2 separate regions of the Homo sapiens genome follow, and region 2 is linked to region 1. The links are contacts of gene promoters, found by promoter capture Hi-C in blood cells and fetal thymus (Javierre and others, 2016). All regions are on one chromosome and are shown on one strand. Each heading gives the region's core, a stretch centred on a gene start or on the middle of the fragment in contact. The rest is flanking DNA. Distances are from core to core; before and after follow the strand shown.

Region 1 (4,894 bases), core at 191-2,690:
TTTCAAAATAATCTATTTTTATTTGTTGCCTTATTGGTGGTACAATCTCAAGTGGAAAAATCTAAGGGTTTTGGTGTTATTTGCTTACTCAACCAATATTTATTAGACTCTTACTAAGCACCAACATGATCACATGCCTGAGCTATGGCTAGCATAGCGTGTGAGACAAACTTAATCTCTGTTTTGGTGGAGCATATAATCTAGTAGATGAAGCCAATGTTGAGCAACATCACAATACTAACAAATTGAGGATGCTACGAGAGTGTCTAACAAATTGAGGATGCTACGAGAGTGTCTAACAAATTGAGGATGCTATGAGAGTGTGTCATGGAGAGCTGCCTGGAGATTGAGAGAAAGCTTCCTTGAGGGAAGTTACATTTCAGCTGAAACACACTGCCATCTGCTCGAGGTTTTGTAACTGCATTCACATCCCGATTCTGACACTTCACATCCCGATTCTGACACTTCACCCAGTTACTGTCTCAGAGCTTGGGTCCGCATGTGTAAAACAAGGACAGTATGCACTTGGCAGGGTTGTGAGAAGGGAAGAGAACACAAGTAAAGCACCTGTATCAGGCATACAGTAGGCACTAAGCGTGCGATGCTTGCTATGATTATACATCAGTGTAAGCATCAAGGAAAAGCTGAAGAAAAGTCTGACCAACAGCGAAAGATAAATGCGCAGAGGAGAAATTTGGCAAAGGCTCCAAATTCAGGGGCAGTCCGTACTCTACACTTTGTATGGGGGCTTCAGGTCCTGAGTTCCAGACATTGGAGCAACTAACCCTTTAAGATTGCTAAATATTGTCTTAATGAGAAGTTGATAAAGAATTTTGGGTGGTTGATCTCTTTCCAGCTGCAGTTTAGCGTATGCTGAGGCCAGATTTTTTCAAGCAAAAGTAAAATACCTGAGAAACTGCCTGGCCAGAGGACAATCAGATTTTGGCTGGCTCAAGTGACAAGCAAGTGTTTATAAGCTAGATGGGAGAGGAAGGGATGAATACTCCATTGGAGGTTTTACTCGAGGGTCAGAGGGATACCCGGCGCCATCAGAATGGGATCTGGGAGTCGGAAACGCTGGGTTCCCACGAGAGCGCGCAGAACACGTGCGTCAGGAAGCCTGGTCCGGGATGCCCAGCGCTGCTCCCCGGGCGCTCCTCCCCGGGCGCTCCTCCCCAGGCCTCCCGGGCGCTTGGATCCCGGCCATCTCCGCACCCTTCAAGTGGGTGTGGGTGATTTCGTAAGTGAACGTGACCGCCACCGAGGGGAAAGCGAGCAAGGAAGTAGGAGAGAGCCGGGCAGGCGGGGCGGGGTTGGATTGGGAGCAGTGGGAGGGATGCAGAAGAGGAGTGGGAGGGATGGAGGGCGCAGTGGGAGGGGTGAGGAGGCGTAACGGGGCGGAGGAAAGGAGAAAAGGGCGCTGGGGCTCGGCGGGAGGAAGTGCTAGAGCTCTCGACTCTCCGCTGCGCGGCAGCTGGCGGGGGGAGCAGCCAGGTGAGCCCAAGATGCTGCTGCGCTCGAAGCCTGCGCTGCCGCCGCCGCTGATGCTGCTGCTCCTGGGGCCGCTGGGTCCCCTCTCCCCTGGCGCCCTGCCCCGACCTGCGCAAGCACAGGACGTCGTGGACCTGGACTTCTTCACCCAGGAGCCGCTGCACCTGGTGAGCCCCTCGTTCCTGTCCGTCACCATTGACGCCAACCTGGCCACGGACCCGCGGTTCCTCATCCTCCTGGGGTAAGCGCCAGCCTCCTGGTCCTGTCCCCTTTCCTGTCCTCCTGACACCTATGTCTGCCCCGCCAGCCGCTCTCCTTCTTTTGCGCGGAAACAACTTCACACCGGAACCTCCCCGCCTGTCTCTCCCCACCCCACTTCCCGCCTCTCATTCTCCCTCTCCCTCCCTTACTCTCAGACCCCAAACTGCTTTTTGGGGGGTATCATTTAAAAAATAGATTTAGGGGTTACAAGTGCAGTTCTGTTCCATGGGTATATTGCATTGTGGTGGCATCTGGGCTCTTAGTGTAACTGTCACCCGAATGTTGTACATTGTATCTAATAGGTAATTTCTCATCCCTCATCCCTCTCCCACCCTCCCACCTTTTGGAGTCTCCAGTGTCTACTATTCCACTAAGTCCATGTGTACACATTGTTTAGCGCCCACTCTAAATGAGCCTTTTTGTTTCATTCATTCTGTAAGTGTTGAATAGGCACCACCTAAGGTCAGGTATAAGTGGAAATTTGAAAAAGAAACTGCCCACTTGCCCCAGTACTTCCCTAGCCAAGAGGAGGGAAACCAGGCAGGTGCACCTGAAGGCCTGTGAGTGCTTGATTTGCTGTGCAGTGTAGGACAAGTAAGATTGTGCATAGCCTTCTGTATTTAAGACTGTGTTAGGAAGATTTCTCTTTCTTTTCTTTTCTTTTTCTTTTTTCTTTTCTTTTTTTTTTTTTAGGCAGATGAAAAGGGCGTCACAGAACAGGAATAAAAATCTAAATATTCAATAAATGAGACCTAGGAGACTACTGCAGTGACTTACAAAGTCCTAATAAAAAGATGTCTCTCCAAAATGGGGCTGCAAAATGTGGTGCTGCCTTATCAGCTCTAAGTTTTTTCCTTACCTGAGAAAGAAGGAACCTGATGCAGGTTCAGGGCTCCTGCCCCATGAATGCAGGCTGACTCCAAGATGGGGAGCTACAGGGACAATCCCAGGTCTTCTAGGCCTCTTATTTAGGCCCTGGGAGCCTCCAGAGATGGCCACATCTTGACCAGCCCAGATAGAGGGAAAGATCACCATTATCTCACCTCTGTGTCAAATACCTAGATGCTGTCCTCCCTGAGCCCACACTATAGTTGCCAGCGCTAATTTAATGGGTAGTGTACTGGTTAAGAGATGGACAGACCATCCTGGCTTGACTCTCAGCTCTGGCAAAGATGAGTGACTTGGTTTTTCCATATCTCTTGGCCACACCAACCTTGATTTCTTCAGCTGTAGAATGGAATTTCTCAAGCTTGCCTCAAGGATTATTGCCCGAGGATTTGATGATATGGTAAGAGCTTCTCAGTGTTTGACCCATAGTAAGTGTTTGACGTTTCAAACGAATTGTTTCTTTCTAGGACATGGTGAGCATTTGGTAGCCATTCACCGGTTTTCTGTTTCTTTGGATCATAGTTAACCTCTCCTTTTCCTTCTGGCACTACAATTTTCTGGTGGGGAAGAATCCTTACTTTCTGCCCTTCCCCTTAAGGATAGGAAGCTGATACTAGGCAGCAACTAGTTGGGGGATAGGAAGATTGTTCCAGAGAAATGCTGAACCATAGGGCTCCAGATCACAGGACCCCAGTCTTAGCTTGCTGGGGTGTGGGGTGGGGGGGGGCGGTTACTGAACATGGGTATGAAGTAGATGTCCATTTACTGAAATGTGAGGACCTGAGGCCTCTTCTATTGCTGTAGCCAGCATATTCCCCAACCTCTCCCCAAGAAAGGACAGATGGGGGTTCCCCCCTGGAGTAACAGGTCCAAAAGAAAAAACATACAGTGGGACTTCCAGGATCTGGGCCTGATCACCCAGCAGTCAAGCTCCCCGCAATTGACTAACACCCCCCTAACACGTAGAAATTCCAATCTGCAATTTAGTGAGGATGATACCTTTATTCTTCTTAAATACATCTCTTCATTTCCCAGAGCACCCTTTTTTCCCCTCCTCTGCACCTTTTTGTTAAAGACTGGAGTATAATGAAATACCAAGAGAGCATAACATGTGATACATAAAACTTTTTTTCTGGTTTACAAAACAGTTCATTCTTGTCCATACGTGCTTCTCTCCAAGGCTGGCTGCTGTCTGTTCCAGCCCGCTTCGCTTGGAGAGGCCATCTGCCATACCTGCTCCCCAGACGCATCGACAAGCACACCCAGAGTGTTATCTGCTAAGACCTAAAAGAGGGAGGAACCCCCTCTCCTCATCTAAGACCTAGCTTCTAAATTAGAGTGTGAGGGTCCATCTCCCCAGGAGGGGCACAGGGCCCAAACAGCCCAGCCATCTCAGAAGACAACACTAAGCTTTGTAGGGGTCCACAGTAGAGGAGAGTAAGACGCCTGTTGTTTAATTTATTACAGTTCCTCAAAAGTGAAGATGTGTGGGCGGGATGGCAAGAGCTGAGCAGACGAAAGCTGAAGGAATAAGGAAAGAGAGGAGGACACAAACAGCTGACACTTCCTCAGTTCTTGTCATTTGCCTGGCCCTGTTCTAAGCACCTTCTAGGTATTAATCCATTTAGTCTTGGCTACAACACTGTGAGTGACTAGTTTTGTCACCCCCATTTTAAAAATGAAGAAAGTGAGGCTCAGGGAGGTTAAGTAACTTGGCCACAGTTTGAAACTAGACTCTGATCACATGAGATAATAGTGCCCATAAAAAGGGAAAGCAGATTATATTTTTTAAAGGAAAGAGAGTAGGATATGGTAGAAAAAGATTGTTTGGAAAGGAATTGAGAGATTGATATAATGAAAAGAAGCATTCACATGAGAGTAACAGTATCAGGGCCCAAACCTTCATCTAAGGTACTTCAAAGAGGCCTAAGCAAACTTAGTCACTGGCGTGGTTCTAGTCTCCATGATGGCAAATACATTGTGTACAGCCCAACTCCACACAAAACTTAAATACCAATGATAGAGCAATCTAAAATTTGAAAGAAAAAATCTTTCAATTTGTCGTCTTCCCAGAGGGACTTAATCAAGAAACCAATCAAAATACTTCCTAAGCCTAACTGTGTGCAGAACTCCAAAGAGAGCCCAGCCCTAAATCAACACTGTCCAATGGAAATATAATATAATGTGGGCCTCATATGCAAGGTCATATGTAATTTTAAATTTTCTAGTAGCCATATTAAAAAGGTAAAAAGAA
Region 2 (5,300 bases), core at 1,360-3,859, 360 kb after region 1:
ACTGTGTCTTTACTGGTAATTTCTTTTCTTAACAGAATGGTTATTGGGGCTTCATACTTATCTCACAGGTATTAGCTTTGGAAACCAGAATAGACAAACATGTTACTTTAGGCAGGCTGAATACTTTAGGGCGGCTCTCTAAACCTATTTGATGTAGATTCGTTTGGTTTATTTAGAATTGACTTTATGTAATTATGATGTATTCAGGTTTTTAAAAAACCTGGCAGAATGTCATTAAAATTAATCTATGTACTACAAAGAAATTTTGAAAATTGTATTGAAAATACTTTAAAAATTCATAGATGGGGATAAAACTTGATTCACTTTTTAAAAAAGAAACTGTGCCAGCCTGGGCAACATGACAAAACTCCATTGTCTAAAAAAAATAAAAAAAAAATAGCTAAGCATGGTGGCACGTGCCTGTGGTCCCAGCTACTCAGGAGGCTGAGATGGGAGGATCATTTGAGCCCAGAAGTTCAAGGCTGCAGTGAGCTATGATCACGCCACTGCATTCTAGCCTGGGTGACTGAGGGAGACCCCTGTCTCAAAACAAAACAAAACAAAAGGCATACTTTGGCATTGTTGTCAGGAAAAATGGCCCAGAAGCTGCTAAGCATTAGTTCTTTATTTTTGTCTAAAGTGAAAGTCCCTTCTTTCTCTCTTTCCCTTTCTCCTCACTGTCATGCTCTCTCCTTCATCTCTAGCTGGATCTATGAGTTTAATCATAGTATCTAAAGGTTAGAGCAGATTCTAGAGATAATTTAGTTATCAATCTTCTCTACTTCTTAGATGCTTGACTTTCCTCTTTAGCCGGTATATTTGATTATCCAGCATCTGCCTGGGACACCTTTAGTGACTAGAAACTCACTTGTGTTGAAATAGTCATTTCAGTTGGAAATTTTTGTTAGAAGTTCTTTCTTAGTGCTGAGCTGAAATATTTTCTGTTTCTCTGCATTTGATGTGATACAGATTGGTTCTAATCCTTTAACCTGACAGCCTGGATCAGTTAGGATAATCTTGGTTTTTCTGCCAAAATAATCTCCAAACCTCAGAAGGGTAAAAAACCTGTTTTTTTTTTTTAAATTCAATTTAAAAAAAATTTAAAAATTGATTATCTATATGACCATTGTGGGTTCAAAAAGGTATCTTCTCTTCATAGCAACTCAGGGACACAGGCTAACCAAGGAGCCGCCATCTCAGATGGCAGAGGAAAATAAACTTTGGAAGGTCTTGCATAGGCAGTAATAAATGCTGTGGCCCAAGAATGACACACGTCACTTCTACTCATAACTCGTCTGCCAGGAGTAGTGACATGACTCTAACTTAACTACAAGATGGGGTGGGAGTGGTAGGAAGTGCAAGTGTAGTTCTACCATGTGTCCAGAATGGAAGAAAGCTAGAATACTTGGTGAATGGGAATAATGGCTATCACACAGTCTTCAAGAATTTGAAGATCTGTTATGTCTTTGTAGTCTTTTCTTACCTAGGATAAAAATTCCTGATATTTCAACTCAATGTAATATGGTTTTCAGTTCCCCAAGCATCCAGACACTAGAGTTTTTCATGGTTGTTCCTGAAGGGTCTTGTCCAGAAGGGAACACAATATGGAATCTGGCCGGGGTGGGTAGAAAAAACATTTTTTTATCCCCTTTGGCAGTCTAAAATCAGGTAGTATTAAACCTTTCAGTGTTTAAGTTAGTCCAATAACTATCTGTTTTATAAGTGTGGATTTCAATTGTACCTTCATGGTTTAAGTTCATATGGGAAGACAGCTATAGATAGTAGAATACAGAGATTGAAGTTTTAAGACTTGGGTTCATGTTCTGACTTTCAGGAGCTGTGTTACACAGGGCACATTACTTAGTTGCCCTGAGCTTTCTCTCTGATGGATATAACAACAGTATTGATGAACACATGAACTAAACTGTTTTTGTAGAGTTTAATGTAAGCTGATATTAAGTATTACTAAGAAGTAGTGTTTTGTTTAGTTCTGCCTAGGTTTACCATAGTTCATTAGTGCCTCATTAAGTGTTGACATGAAATAACAAACATACATTCTGCAGTCCTTGTGAGTGTAGAGCATCATCACATAAATTTTTATACTATTATTGAAAAAAGTCAAACTGATGTGCTGCCTCTCATTTGCAGGTAGGGTTCTTTCACAGTCTACTCCCGGAACTCCATCAAAGACCATAACAATATCTGAAAGTGGTGTTATTGGATCAACTTTAAATTCTACAACACAGACACCAAATAAAATAGCCATCTCACCTTTGAAATCGCCAAATAAGGTAAAAAAATAAATTAGCCACAAATACCAAATATTGTGGTTGATGCCTTTATTTTCTTACTAGTCACTTCAGATACTTCAATTTTAGTACATTCCCAAGCAAGTAATAGACATTCAATGAATACTGGATTAATTTAGTAATCAAGGATGTCTGACAGATTAAAAAGCTTACTTTAAACACATAGTAACATAGTAATCATTTTGCATGTGAATATGATTTCCATAGCCCATATGAATGTGGGTACAACAAAATCTTGAATAAATTCAATAATGTAGGTGTTTAGTTCTTCTTTAGTTAATATTTTAGCAAAATTATTGTATTTGTGGAAGGTACATATAGACTTATGATATAAAATATTAAATGTAACTTTAAAAAATGGAGATCTGAACTTTTGCTTGGTAACAGGACCCAGAGTAGTAGAAATTGCCATCAGATGCTGGTAGCCATATTATCAGTGTTGTTTAAGCTTGAATACATTTTATTGGAAGCATTCAAATGCTTTCTTATTTTATTGTGAGGCAAAGTAAGTCATCTAACTCACTTTCCTAAAACATACAGTTGTTATTATACCAGCATAACATTTTGAAAAAGATATGTTTTAAAGGACATATTATTCAGATAGAAAGCCAAGCATTATTATTTTGTTAGGTTTCACGCTTGTGACTCTGGAAACAATACTGCCCTTTGCACCTGCTTTCTTTGATTTGTTACTGTTCATAAATAGAACAAACGTTAAACATTTGCCTTACATTTTTTAAAGTCCAGGTGTTGGTTTCTTTAATGAGCCTTGACTATAATGTACAAATATGTTATCTCATACAGTTTATTAAGGTCAAATTCTACCTGCATAACTTTTTCCCTAAATTGAATGAATTTGGCAGAAATTTGAGGGTAACTGTGCCATGCATAGTGATAGGCACTGAGGATAAAACATGAATAAGATAAGGTATTTCATTTCAAGGAATTCAATAAGGTAGTTAGACTGAAACATTAAAAATTGTCCTACAGAATTACAATGGTCATAGATGGATTAATGACTGCTGTGTGTTTGGCAGGGAAGGTTTATACAAAGGAGCTTATTCTTGAAAGGTCTTAACCTTAAACGTGGGTTGGACTTAGCTCCAGATGAGCAGAAGGGGATTTCTGGATTGAGGTGATACTTTACATAAAGGTGTAAAAGTGTGGTCTTTCAGGAAGCCTCACTGATTTTTGCAGTGTGAGAGCCGAGGGTGCTAAGGTTAGATGGACGGTTTCTTTATCTTCAGGGGAGTTTGGACTTCTGTGGCTTCTCATTGCTTCTAGGACAGTGATTCTCGCCCTTATCTGCTTATTGGGATCACCTGGAGAGTTTTAATAAATACCGACGCCTAGTTCTCATCCCCAGAGATTCTGTTTTCATCTCTCCAGACTTGACCTGGTATCAGGATTTTACAAAGCTCTTTAAGTGATTCTAGTGGGTAGCCTAGATTGGGAACCACTGCTATAAATAATATGAAATTTGCATTTTTAAAAATACGAATCTTGTGGCATTATGAGAGATAGTTTGGGGGAAGGTGAGCCTGTATTGTGGGAGAGACCAGTTAGGTTAGTGATTCTCAACCTTGGCTGCAGTTAGTACTGGGGACCTCTTGAGAAAACTAATGGCAGGCCCCTACCTGACCCCATTTAAATCAGAATCTCTAGGCTGCGGCCTGTGTGTTAAATTTAATCTTTTAAAAGTGTAGGCCAGGGTAGAGAATCACTAAGAGATTATTGCAGTACTTCATGTTTGAACTACACTAGTAGCTCAGGGGCTAAAGAGGAAGAGAGATGTGTTGAAAGAGGTTCAGTATCTTAGGGGGAGAATCTAGGATGACTCCTGTATTTCTGACTTAGATAACGGGGTAGATGGTAGCCCTATGGACTAATTTGACTGGTATATGGTTTATACCTGATGACATACGAATAGGAACTGGCTTTATTTTTTTCCCATCCTTGACTTTAGCCCTGCCATATTGGATCTTCCTTTCTTGACTCTTGGCAAGATTTTACACTTAACTATAAGAACAAGCTTGTTTTAGTCTGAGACCAGCCTGACCAACATGGAGAAACCCTGTCTCTACAAAAAAAATACAAAATTAGCTGGGCTTGGTGGCACATGCCTGTAATCCCAGCTACTCGGGAGGCTGAGGCAGGAGAATTGCTTGAACCCAGGAGGTAGAGGTCGCGGTGAGCTGAGATCCTGCCATTGCATTCCAGCCTGGGCAACAAAAGCGAAACTCTTGTCTCCAGAAAAAAAAAAAACAAAAAACAAAAACAAGCTTGTTTTGGTTATTAAAATTCACAGGTGTGAAATGTACAGTCAAAAGCTTACATCCGGTTGAAAGCTTATCTATCGTTCAGGTGAGATCTAACCATGGCTCAGGGATTCGCGGTGGAGAAGAGGAGCATGATCTGTTTCGTCACTCTTCAACCTCCTCTCCCTTTCTGATTTTGTCTTCTGATCAGAAGGAAGATTAAAGGAGAAAGGACAAGGTTTTGTTTGACTGAGACTATTGTAATCCAGCTTCTGGTGCCCTCTGTGTGACAGGTGTCCAAATGTGGACTTAATGGAGATATTCACTCAGGATGGTTTTTTTGGAGCCCTTCCTGTGGGTTATTGCCACATTGCCAAGTTCCCTGTCAGGGATATGGTGTACTCTCCAGCTGCCTTTTGCAGCCTCCCTTTAGCTCTTCATTCCTGTAGTCTACGTCTGGCACTCCTGAGTACCTTTACTCCAGAAGGTACATGGCTTTGGCAGGGTCCCATCAAGATGTCTTAGCCCTTCTGCAGCATCTACATGGCCAGTGGGAAACTTCTAGAACCCAGTGGTAAAAGTGCAGCTTGCCTAACTGCTGTCCTCTAAATCTTTGCCCTACCATTGTGACAGCTGCAGCCATCTTCTTTCTTGCAGAATTTTCCAGGCTGGGACCAGTTTCTGTGTTCACATATTCTCTGAATAAACTCTTGAGGATATCTGTCAGGTTATC

The links. Contacts are between HindIII fragments. The CHiCAGO score rates a contact against its expected background, and 5 or more counts as called.
Region 2: a contact is called between a fragment that was not itself captured here and the fragment with the promoter of HPSE in region 1, in 1 of 17 cell types (total CD8 T cells). The highest score is 6.2, in total CD8 T cells.

Annotation. Positions count from the first base shown.
Region 1 is chr4:83,331,394-83,336,287 of GRCh38, reverse strand. HPSE (heparanase) reads left to right here and starts at 1,440. Exons shown (of 12, transcript NM_001098540.3): 1 at 1,440-1,732. The coding sequence starts at 1,506. The HindIII fragment of the contact is 2,644 bases long and covers 360-3,003 here.
Region 2 is chr4:82,967,318-82,972,617 of GRCh38, reverse strand. It overlaps LIN54 (lin-54 DREAM MuvB core complex component), which reads left to right. Exons shown (of 13, transcript NM_194282.4): 4 at 2,149-2,291. Among named protein-coding and RNA genes, the nearest start is that of LIN54, 41 kb to the left of the region's middle. The HindIII fragment of the contact is 300 bases long and covers 2,460-2,759 here.